Regions from separate parts of the Homo sapiens genome. Here region 2 is linked to region 1. The links are contacts of gene promoters, found by promoter capture Hi-C in blood cells and fetal thymus (Javierre and others, 2016). All regions are on one chromosome and are shown on one strand. The core of a region is centred on a gene start or on the middle of the fragment in contact, and the rest is flanking DNA. Distances in the headings are between cores, read along the strand shown.

Region 1 (5,849 bases), core at 11-2,510:
TCCTTCTTCAGTGTCCAGAGTAGCAGGGGCTAATTTTTTTTTAATTTTTTAATTTTTTTTTTGAGACAGTCTCTGTTGCCTGGGTTGGAGTGCAGTGGCGCAATATTGGCTCACTACAACCTCTGCCTCCTGGGTTCAAGTGATTTTCCTGCCTCAGCCTCCTGAGTAGCTGGAATTACAGGCACCTGCCACCATGCCCAGCTAATTTTTTGTATTTCTAGTAGAGACGGCGTTTCATCATATTGGCCCGGCTGGTCTCAAACTCCTGACCTCATGATTTGCCCACCTTGGCCCCCAAAGTGCTGGGATTACAGGCATGAGCCACCGCGCCCAGCAGCAGGAGCTAATTTTTAAGAATTTTTTGTAGCAACAAGTTGTTGCTATGTTACCCAGCTGGTCCTGAGTCACTGGGGTTACAGGTGTGTGTCACCATGCCAGGCTTGCTTCCTCCTCCGTTAAGTGGCCATTTTTCCACCTCAAAAATTGGTTTGGGACACAAGGAAGAATTGGAAATGCTTAAGATGAGAACAAAAGTTGAGACCACCCAACACAGCTGGGACCTTACTGCCCAGTGCTCCCAGTGGTCTGACCAAAACCCCACACCAGACAGTACAAAGGCCCACTCCCGAGCTGCCGCTTACGGCCCAGCGGGAACAGACTGTATTCTTATCTTTCGGCATTTCTCTGCAAATAAAAAGGTGCCACTGCGGTCCGGCCTTTGTGCACTTGCCCTTGTGCTGAGCAAGGCGGGTGGCCTGTTCTTACCGCTGGGTTCTGCTGCCCCCACCCCCATTTCGGTGACTAAACCTGCAGCTCTGATCCTGTTCCCAAAGGGGCAGGAGGCCGGGCTCACCCCAGGCAGCCCCTGGCCTCCCTGACGGCCCCCTCGGGAGGGGTTCCGTGCTTTGATCGCCTTTCCAGCGCCGATACTGCAGTAGCTGGGCCCGGCCGAGAGCTCGCGGTCACGAACACCGGCAGCCTCTTGCCTACAGTGTCCCGCGCTGTAGAAGAGCCTGCCCTGGCGCTGAGCTGGTCGTGGCTGCTTCAGCAGTGGGCCTGCGCCTCCTTGTAGGCCAGCCCTGGCCCAGATCCAGGTGCCTGCCCCGGAAGCGCGCGGCTGCCCGGGGTGAAGCCGGAGGGCGGCGAGCGGCTGTTTCGGCCGGTAGGTGGAGGCGTTGACCAGCCTCTGGGAACGGGGCGGGACCTAGTTGGGGGGGCTCCGCCCCCTCCCCAGGAGGCGAGCTCAGCCCGCGACCTTTATCCCGCGCGTTGCGGTCAAGATGGCGCTGGTGGCTTCTGTGCGAGTCCCGGCGCGCGTTCTGCTCCGCGCGGGTGCGAAACCCGGGGTGGGCAGGGATCGGGCCGGGGCCGGGGCCAGGACCGGGAACTAACGGGCTCCCCCACGCTGCCTTCGCAGGGGCCCGGCTCCCGGGCGCGGCCCTCGGGCGGACGGAGCGGGCGGCCGGCGGCGGAGACGGCGCGCGGCGCTTCGGGAGCCAGCGGGTGCTGGTGGAGCCGGACGCGGGCGCAGGTGAGCGGGCGGCGCCGAGGGAGGGCGGGCGTGGGGTCAGGACCCGCGGGGGTCCGCGCTCGCGGGGTGCTGTCGGAGAACCACGTCTGTCGACGCTCGGTTTGTGTTTAGAACCCAAGTTTCGAAACAGAACCTTGCCGCTCTACCTGGGTTCGTTCGTCATGAGATAAAAGTTTCTGTTTTTAAAGTTGGCGGAGGCCGGGCGCGGTGGCTCACGCCTGTAATCCTAGCACTTTAAGAGGCAGAGGCGGGCGGATCACCTGAGGTCAGGAGTTCGAGATCAGCCTGGCCAACATGATGAAACCCTATCTGTACTGAAAAATACAAAAGAAAAAAATTAGCTGGGCGTGGTGGTGCGTGCCTATGCCTGGGAGGCTGAGGCAGAAGAATCGCTGGAATCTGGGAGGTGGAGGCTGCAGTGAGCCGAGATTGTGCCACTGCACTCCAGCTTGGGCCACAGAGCAAGATTCCGTCTCAAAATAAATAAATAAATAAAAATAAAGTTGGCGGGGATATGAGCTGTTATCTAAGTTATTCAATTGGAAGTGGAAAAGAATTGGAATCTTTTGGAATAAAATTACGTTTGTTAACACTCCCATGTGGCACAGAACCTCGTACCTACCCGCCCGTCAGAACCCTTGGTAAAACCCACTGGAAAGGATAGAAAAAGTACTTTTGGAAGAGAAGCCTGTGCGCTCCCTCCAGACAGGAGGCCGAGCTGAGGGCACCGAGAGGGCACGCCTAGGCGCCAGCAGTTCTGCTTCCAGGACATGCTGACCTGGACCTCCCGGTGCAGCAGTCCCTGCTGTGGCTCCTGAGAGGAGGCCCTCCCCCTCCGCAAGTAAGTCACAGCCCCTGCCCTCCCCAACCCCCCAGACTCAGGGCTGTGCCCAACTTTGCACAGCTTCAGGACTCCAGGCTCCTGGTGCCTCTGAACTTGGTTCCGTCCTCTCTGTCTGGGCTGAGGGAGCTGCCTGGGCTCTCTCTACAAACTTGAGAGGGACAAACTAAGACCAACTTCAAACTGACTTTTTTTTTTTTTTTTTTTTTTTTTGGAGATGTAGTCTTGCTCTCCAGTCGCCAGACTGGAGTGCAGTGGCGCAATCTCCGATCACTGCAACCTGTGCCTCCTGGGTTCAAGCGATTCTCCCTCCTCAGCCTCCCAAATAGCTGGGATTACAGGGACCCACCACTATGCCCACTAATTTTTGTAAAAACTGAGTTTCTGAAGGGATCATTTCTGTAGCATATTTGAATATATCTCAACAAAATGCAAAAAAAAAAATTATTATTTTTTTTTTTTTGAGACAGAGGCTCCCTCTGTCACCCAGGCTGGCGTGCAATGGCGCGGTTCCGGCTCACTGCAATCTCAGTCAGGCCTGACTTTCTGACTCCAAACTCTACTTTGTCTTTTTTTTTTTTTTTTTTTTTTTTTTTTTGAGACGGAGTCTTGCTCTGTCGCCAGGCTGGAGTGCAGTGGCACGATCTCCGCTCACTGCAAGCTCCGCCTCCCGGGTTCACACCATTCTTCTACCTCAGCCGCCCAAGTAGCTGGGACTACAGGCGCCCGCCACCACGCCCGGCTAATTTTTTTTTTTTGGTATTTTTAGTGGAGACGGGGTTTCACCATGTTAGCCAGGATGGTCTTGATCTCCTGACCTCGTGATCCACCCGCCTCGGCCTCCCAAAGTGCTGGGATTACAGGCGTGAGCCACCGCGCCCGGCTTACGTTGTCTTTTTATATGGTAAAGTGGGGAGGCACTCGAGTAAAAAAATTGTCATTGTACGAACACTTTTCCTTTTTTACCGGAGGTAATGTGTGTGTGTGTGTACATAAAAATCTTTAAAATATGCCTCACATTTACCATTCTAGCCATTTTGCAATGTACAACCCCGTGGCCGTAAGTATATTCACAATGTGTAGTCCACACTACCCATTCCAATACCTTAAGATAACATGTTTTTGAGTCCGGGCCCGGTGGCTCCCACCTGTAATCCCAGCACTTTGGGAGGCCAGGGTGCGCGGATCACGAGGTCAGGAGATTGAGACCATTCTGGCTAACACGGTGAAACCCCATCTCTACTAAAAAATACAAAAAAAAATTAGCCGGGCGTGGTGGCGGGCACCTGTAGTCCCAGCTACTTGGGAGGCTGAGGCAGGAGAATGGTGTGAACCCCGGAGGTGGAGCTTGCAGTAAGCCGAGATCGCGCCACTGCACTCCAGCCTGGGCAACAGAGCAAGAATCTGTCTCAAAAATAAATTAATTAATTAAATAAAATAAATAAATAAATAAATAGGAATGACAACCACATGGATGAACCTTGAACACATGATACTAAGTGGACAAAGCCGACAACAAAGCCCGGCGGTATCCCAGTGATATGGAATATGGCTGGAGCAGGAAAACCGCAGACACAGAACGCAGACTGGCGGCTTCCAGGGGCTAGGGGTGGGATGAGGAGCAACTGCTCATGGGGACAGGGATTCCTTTTGGGACAATGAAAAGGTTCTGGAACTAGGCAGCGGCGATAGTTGCACAACACAGTCAGTATACTGAATTGTGTAAGTGCCTGACTTGTTTACTTAAAAATGGCTAATTTAGGCTGGGCACAGTGGCTCATACCTATAATCACATCACTTTGGGAGGCCGAGGCAGGAGGATCACCTGAGGTCAGAAGTTCATGACCAGCCTGGCCAACCTGGTGAAACCCCGTCTCTACTAAAAATGCAAAAATTAGCCAGGCATGGTGGTGTGTCCTGTAATCCCAGCTTCTCAGGAGGCTGAGGCAGAAGAATGGCTTGAACCCAGGAGGCAGAGGTTGCAGTGAGCCGAGATAGCGCTGCTGCACTCCAGCCTGGGCAACAGAGCGAGGCTCTTGTCTCAAAAAAAAAATAAAGATAGAAAATGGTTAATTTGGCCGGGCATGGTGGCTCACACCTGTAATCCCAGCACTTTGGGAGGCCGAGGCGAGGTGTTCACGAAGTCAAGAGATCGAGACCATCCTGGCCAACCAACATGGTGAAACCCCATCTCTACTAAAAATACAAAAATTAGCTGGGCATAGTGGCGCATACCTGTAGTCCCAGCTACTCAGGAGGCTGAGGCAGGAGAATCGCTTGAACCCGGGAGGTGGACGTTGTAGTGAGCTGAGATCGCGCCACTGCACTCCAGCCTGGGCGACGAGCGAGACTCTGTCTCAGAAAAAAATGATAGAGAGAGAAAGAGAGAATGGTTGATTTAAAAAGCATGCAGTTTATATAGAATAAATAAAATTGTTAATTTATGTTATATCGATCTTACTTCAATGTAAAAAACCAAGGGCTCACTCCTGTAATCTAGCACTTTGGGAGCCTGAGGCAGAAGGACCACTTAAGCTCAGGAGTTCAAGACCAGCCTGGGCAACAAAATAAGACCTCGTCTGTACTAAAAAATAAAAAAGATTAACTGGGTGTGGTGGCGCTTGCCTATAATCCCAGCTACTCAGCAGGCTGAGTTGGGAGGATCGCTGGAGCCCAGGAGGTCAAAGCTGCAGTAACCAGAGATCACACCCCTGCACTCCTAGGTGATAGAGTGAGACCCTGTCTCAAAAATAATAATAATAAAAAAATAACCCCCAGGCCGGGCGCTGTGGCTTACGCCTGTAATCCTGGCACTTTGGGAGGCCGAGGCGAGCGGATCACCTGAGGTTGGGAGTTCAAGACCAGCCTGACCAGCATGGAGAAAACCCCGTCCCTACTAAAAATACAAAATTAGCTGGATGTAGCGGCACGCACCTGTAATCCTAGCTACTCGGGAGGCTGAGGCAGTCGAATCGCTTGAACCCAAGAGGCAGAGGTTGCGGTGAGCCAAGATCGCTCCATTGCACTTGAACCTGGGCAACAAGAGCAAAACTCCGTCTCAAAAAAGTAAATAAAAATAGGACCAGGCGCGGGGGCTCACGCCTGTAATCCCAGCACTTTGGGAGGCCGACGTGGGCAGATCGCGAGGTCAAGAGATCGAGCCCATCCTGGCTAACACGGTGAAACCCTGTCTCTACTTAAAAGAAAAAAATTATCCGGGCGTGGTGGTGGGCACCTGTAGTCCCAGCTACTCAGGAGGCTGAGGCAGGAGAATGGTGTGAACCCGGAAGGCAGAGCTTGCAGTGAGCTGAGATCGCGCCACTGCACTCCAGCCTGGGTGACAGAGCGAGACTCTGTCTCTAAATAAATAAATTAATAAATAAAACCCCCAAAATGCACAGCTATCATGGCTTAGTTGAGGGTGCAGGCTGGTCAGGCTGCTTTTCCAGTGCCAGGTGTGAGCTTTCTCTTCTCATT
Region 2 (5,738 bases), core at 1,552-4,051, 240 kb after region 1:
CCGGGAGGCGGAGTTTGCAGTGAGCCGAGATTGTGCCATTGCACTCCAGCCTGGACAACAAGAGCGAAACTCCACCTAAAAAAAAAAAAGCTGGGCGGGGTGGCTCACGCCTGTAATCCCAGCACTTTGGGAGGCCGAGGCGGGTGGATCATGAGGGCAGGAGATGGAGACCATCCTGGCTAACACGGTGAAACCCTGTCTCTACTAAAAATACAAAAAGAAATTAGCCGGGTGTTGTGGCGGGTGCCTGTAGTCCCAGCTACTCGGGAGGCTGAGGCAGGAGAATTGCTTGAACCTGGGAAGTGGAGGTTGCAGTGAGCCAAGACTGTGCCACTGCACTTCAGCCTGGGCGACAGAGACTCCATCTCAAAGAAAAAAAAAAGATTGGACCACTGGCCTCCCCCAGAGTCAACTCTGAAAGACAGAAAGCAGCCATGAGCCAAGGAGTTCGGGCAGCCTCTAACAGCTGGAAAAGGCAAGGAAGCAGATTCTCCCCTGGAGCCTCCAAATAGGAATGCAGTGATACTGACACCCTGATTTTAGCTCAGTGTGACCCACGTTAGAGTCTGGACTCCAGAACTAAAGATAATACATTTGTGTGTTTTAAGCCAAGTTTGTGGCCTTTTTTTTTTTTTTTTTTTTTGAGATGGAGTCTCACTCTGTTGCCCATGCTGGAATGCAGTGGCGCAATCTTGGCTCACTGCAAGCTCCACCTCCCGGGTTCACACCATTCTCCTACCTCAGCCTCCGGAGTAGGTGGGACTACAGGCGCCCGCCACCACACCAGGCTAATTTCTTTTTGTATTTTTAGTAGACATGGGGTTTCACCGCGTTAGTCATGATGGTCTTGATCTCCTGACCTCGTGATCCACCTGCCTCAGCCTCACAAAGTGCCAATTTCAAGCTGGGATTACAGGTGTGAGCCACCGCGCCCAGCCAAGATGTTGAACTTCTTACATCCTTACAATAACTTTTCCCAGTTTTCTTTTTTTTTTTTTGAGATGGAGTCTCACTCTGTGGCCCAGGTTGGAGTGCAGGGGCGCAATCTCTGCTCATTGAAACCTCTGCCTCCTGGGATCAAGCGTTTCTCGTGCCTCAGCCTCCCGAGAAGCTGTGACTACAGGCGCATGTCACCACGCCCCGTTAATTTTTGTGTGTTTTGGCCAGGCACAGTGGCTCATGCCTGTAATCCCAGCACTTTGGGAGGCCAAGGCAGGTGGATCAAGAGGTCAGGAGATCGAGACCATCCTGGCGAACATGGTGAAATCCTGTCTCTACTAAAAATAAAAAAAAAAAATTAGCAGGGCGTGGTGGCGGGTGCCTGTAGTCCCAGCTACTCAGGAGGCTGAGGCAGGAGAATGGCGTGAACCCGGGAGGCGGAGCTTGCAGTGAGCCGAGATCACGCCACTGCACTCTAGTCGTGTGTGTTTTTTTTTTTTTTTTTGAGATGGAGTCTCGCTCTGTTGCCAAGGCTGGAGTGCAGTGGCGTGATTGTCGTGATCTCGGCTCACTGCAACCTCTGCCTCACGGTTTCAAGAGATTCTACTGCCTCAGGCTGCCGAGTAGCTGGGACTACAGGCACATGTCACCACGCCCGGCTAATTTTTGTATTTTTAGTAGAGATGGGGTTTCACCATTTTGGTCAGGCTTGTCTCCAATTCCTGACCTCAGGTGATCCCAACCTCCCAAAGTGCTGGGATTACAGGCGTGAGCCACCACGCCCGGCCTAAAAATTTTTTTTGTGGAGATGGAGCCTGACTGTGTAGGCCAGGCTGGTCTCAAATTCCCAGGCTCCAGCAATCCGGGCCACCCAGCCTCCCAAACTGCTGGGATTACAGGCTTGAGCCACTGTGCCTGACAGCTTTTTTCAAGTGGCAAAATTGGGGTTTCAAGCCCATTTGTGTCTGTTTCTAAAGTCCAAGTTCACTGGGCATGGATCACTTGAGCCCAGGAGGTTGAGGCCTCAGTGTGCTGTGATCGTACCACTGTGTTACAGCAAGAGCAAGACCCGGTCTCAAATAAAGTAAGTAAAGTTCAGGCTCATTGATACAATTTACTGCCTCTTTTCCAGTAGGGTTTAGATCTGGACCTGCCTTCTGGATGGCAGAGGGAGGGAGGTCCTGAGTGTGCCTGGCCCTCAAGGGTAGGGAGGAGGCCCTGTTACTGCAGCATCCATCCAAACACGTCCTGTGCTGGGCCCAGCGTAAAGAGGACAGGTTCCGTTCGTGCCTTCCAGAGGCCCCTTCTGGGCAGGCCTGGCGAGACTGCCCTGGGCTGCGAGATGGACGTCACCACGTGCTGCCTTTCACGTTGTCTTTCATGTAGGGATTTAAACAGGGCATTAGGGAAGTGGAGGCGGGACCACGCTTGTGTGTGTTCCAAATACCAGAGACCGGTTTCCTAATAAGGTGGCCAGATTTAGCAAATACAAATACGGCAGGTCCACTTAAATGTCAATTTCAGATAAGGAGCAGCATTTTAGTATGAGCCTAGCCCATCAATATTTGGGCTATACTTACACTAAGACATGACCCCTTGTTCATCTGAGATGCAAACCAGTTGTGCCGTGTTTCATCTGACAACGCCAGTTCGTGGAGCCCGGCGAGTGTTGACGTGACACGCGTGGCCCAGAGGAGCCCGGGGCTGGCCGCGTGGCCGCGCGGACCTTCGAGCGGTCGGCTCATGGTAGAGCGGCCTCTATCAGGGCCACCGCTCTAGCCGGCGCCGCGCTGAGGCGGAAGTCGCGACGCGCACTTGCGCCGGGCGGGCCCGTTGCTGGGTGGGGCGGTGACGTTTGCCCGGAAGGGGCGGGCCCGCCGGGAGCCAGGCCGCTCGGCGCCACGACCGGCCGAGAGGGGGGCCGGATCCCGGACCATGGCGGCGGCCGGGGGGCGCCGAGGGGCGGCGCGCGGACATGGAGGCGGAGGCGGCGGCAGCTCCTGAGCGGGGAGGCGGGAGCTGCGTGCTGTGCTGCGGAGACCTGGAGGCCACGGCGCTGGGGCCGCTGCGACCACCCGGTGTGCTACCGCTGCTCTACCAAGATGCGGGTGCTCTGCGAGCAGCGCTACTGCGCCGTGTGCCGCGAGGAGCTGCGCCAGGTGCGGGGCGCCGGGGGCGCGGCCCGGGGGCAGCGGGGCTCCCGGCGACCGGATGGGGACTTTGCCTCACTGAGGTCCGGCCGTGGGCCCGGCGGCGCCGGCTTCCGAGAGAGGCCTGGTGGGGCCACCCAGGGCGGGGTCCCGGCCGTGCGGCTGACGGCGGGGCGTTGGGGCTTGGAGGCCGGAGGCGGCCGAGCGGGTTGCAGGAGGGGGCAAGCCCTGTGGGGACAGCCTGGGGACTTCCCCCGTGTCCCGGGGGTTCCTGCCGGGCCTCAGGAAGGGTCCTGATCAGATGGAGAACTCGGTGACCTGCTCGTCTTCAGGAGTTTATTTTCCAGGGTCCTCCATTCGAGGAAACAAGGCAAGGGGGACTCTGCGGAGGCCATCCGTCCTGGAAGCAGGGCGTCAAACTCTGGGCATTCTCAGCCCAGCTGTGTTTCTGGGCCCCCATTGGATGACCCTGAGCAAACTCCTTCCGAGACTGACGTTTTCCTCTGTGGAGTGGAGGTGACACTAGCCTCGGAAGGAGACCTGCCCGTCGGAGGGGAAGGCCCCCTCGCGCTTCTTGGCGGGAAGGGAGAAAAGTGTTAGGAAGTTGTCCTCCTCCTCGCCGCCGCCCCCCGCCTTTGGCGCTCATCTCCGCAGTGAATGGGAGACGTTTTTGACTGTACAGACTTGGAAGCCGTGGAGGGGTCAGAGGGTACCATGCAGCGTTCCTCCACCCTCACTGCACTGCCAGCTGCTGGCTGTGGGCACCTGGCTGGAGCCCGTTGGTTTGCTGAGCTTAGAGATTTGTTTGCTTCCAGCATTGTGAAATTCCCCCGGTTTGTTCATAGAAGGCTTCGGCTGGTGACATCTGCCAGGAATCTAACTTTCTTCTCCCCAGAAGTGATGCAGAGCAGTATTGAGGTGTAGGTTCTTTCTTTTTTTCCTTTTCTTTCTTTAAGTAGACGTTTACATCAAAGGAGTTGAAGAGATGCTGCAATTCTCTGAGCAATTTGTGGGCTTATAGTCTGTGCCCTTTTTGGAAAAAGACATTTGGAGATTCTATCAGTCTGTCATGTGACAGGAGGAGGCCGACCCAGACCCCGGGGAGATCTGGGGTGCAGGAACAGTCACAGAGGACCTTGGCCCGTGGCTTCCTCAGGGCGCTTCCTGGCTTTGCCAGGGCCTGCCTTGCCAGCCAGTCCTGCATAGCATGACCTCACTCTCCAACAGCTAGGTTTCCCAGCACACCTGTAGCTTCCTTCCGGAAAGAAGACGCTAAGGAGTTCTTGGCACGTGAGGTCCCGACCCAGGCTGCAGGTCTGATGCAAGACATGAGTGAACATCTGCGTATGCTTACTGTGGCAGCCTCTGCCCGCTCTCATTCCTTGTAGGCCCCACGCCCTCCAGGAGCTCTGTGGCTGGGGGCTGCGGACATGAGCTGTCAGCCGGGGTGTGGTTTGGCACTGGGTGCCCCCAGCCGGCTTCCTCTAGGGCCTACCCCGCCTTACTGGGCTGAAGGAGGGGCTCCTGGAAAGTTTGCTGTTTGCTGGTCTCCTCTCCTTTGCATTCGTTCTATTTTCTTCCCATCTTGAGCTTGCCGCCTCACTCTAGTCTCCTTTTTCCTTACTGAGTTCAGCACCATCCCCTGAATATATTCTGTGTCCCATGCGTGCTCAGGAATTCCCACTGCAACCCTCAACTCCTGAACCCTGGCGTTGCCTTGGCCTCCCTTATGGGACTAAGGTTTTGCGAAAATTGTGAGGAAAGTGTCCAGGATGCCGTGTGGAATCGGCTGGCTCCATGTGCTTGTTAGTTCCACACACCTGGACCCAGGCCTTCCCTGTGGAGGCTGCAGCTGCTGCTCAGGCCAGGAGCCAGATGGGCCTGACCCCTGGCAGGTGCTCAGGGTGGAAGCCGAGGCAGGCTCCCCTCCGTGGGAGGTGGGGGCGCTGGTCTTGGCCATGGCTGACAGAGGTCCTGGGGTGGTGGAGCCCCACGTTCTGGGCCTCTTTCCTGGCTGCGTCTTTCTCAAGGGCCGGTTCCTGCTGTTTGCATCTTGCTCTCCAGCTTGCTCTGGTCCCTGGTGTTACTGCAGGAGTCCTGATGAGGCTGCAAGCCCCCCAGGGCAGCCCACCTGCACCTTACAGGCAGGCAGTGGGAGGGGGCGCAGAGGGCCAGCCCACAGTTACCCAAGGTCCCAGGTCAGGAGGGTGACATGCTGGCTTGGGTCATGCTTTCCTACTCCTACTGCTCCCCCTCCGCCCTGCTCCCGTCCCCCGTGGCCCTGGCCCTATCTGTAAAATGCTCCCTGCTTCTGCTGTCCCCCCACCCCGCTCCCGTCCCCCATGGCCCTGGCCCTCTGTAAGATGCTCCCTGCTGCTGCTGTCCCCATCTGGGCTCCTTGGAGGTCTAGACTCTCTAGATGGCCCTGGGAGCCAACCCCAGGGTCCCCCTCCCCACGTGTGGGCAGGCCCTCACCGCTGTCCTTTTGTGTGCCCATGACATGCTGGGGAGTGTAGAGCAGCAAGGCCCCAGGCAGACACCACACCTGTCCCTGTGGGGGGTCTTGGGGGCCTCCTGTTCCTAAGCAGGCCTCACCCCATTTGCCTCTTGCTCTCCTTGGGGCCTAGCTTGGCCGTCTCCAGGGCTCAC

Evidence for each region. Contacts are between HindIII fragments. The CHiCAGO score rates a contact against its expected background, and 5 or more counts as called.
Region 2: the fragment with the promoter of ZNF598 here is called in contact with the fragment with the promoter of ECI1 in region 1 in 2 of 17 cell types (erythroblasts and endothelial precursors); the score reaches 7.7 in erythroblasts.

Annotation. Positions count from the first base shown.
Region 1 is chr16:2,246,998-2,252,846 of GRCh38, reverse strand. It overlaps ECI1 (enoyl-CoA delta isomerase 1), which reads left to right and starts at 1,260. Exons shown (of 7, transcript NM_001919.4): 1 at 1,260-1,332; 2 at 1,418-1,531. The coding sequence starts at 1,281. It overlaps LOC107984839 (a long non-coding RNA gene), which reads right to left and starts at 1,177. Exons shown (of 2, transcript XR_001752052.2): 1 at 854-1,177. RefSeq lists enhancers at 809-868, 1,799-1,928 and a silencer at 1,119-1,588. The HindIII fragment of the contact is 15,979 bases long and covers 1-5,849 here.
Region 2 is chr16:2,006,884-2,012,621 of GRCh38, reverse strand. ZNF598 (zinc finger protein 598, E3 ubiquitin ligase) reads left to right here and starts at 2,801. Exons shown (of 14, transcript NM_178167.5): 1 at 2,801-2,884; 2 at 2,886-2,997; 3 at 2,999-3,098. The coding sequence starts at 2,875. LOC124903626 (a long non-coding RNA gene) reads right to left here and starts at 2,737. Exons shown (of 2, transcript XR_007064941.1): 1 at 2,520-2,737; 2 at 2,034-2,314. RefSeq lists silencers at 397-592, 2,683-2,902, 2,993-3,422, 3,433-3,502 and enhancers at 2,443-2,602, 2,127-3,075, 4,975-5,738. The HindIII fragment of the contact is 28,758 bases long and covers 1-5,738 here.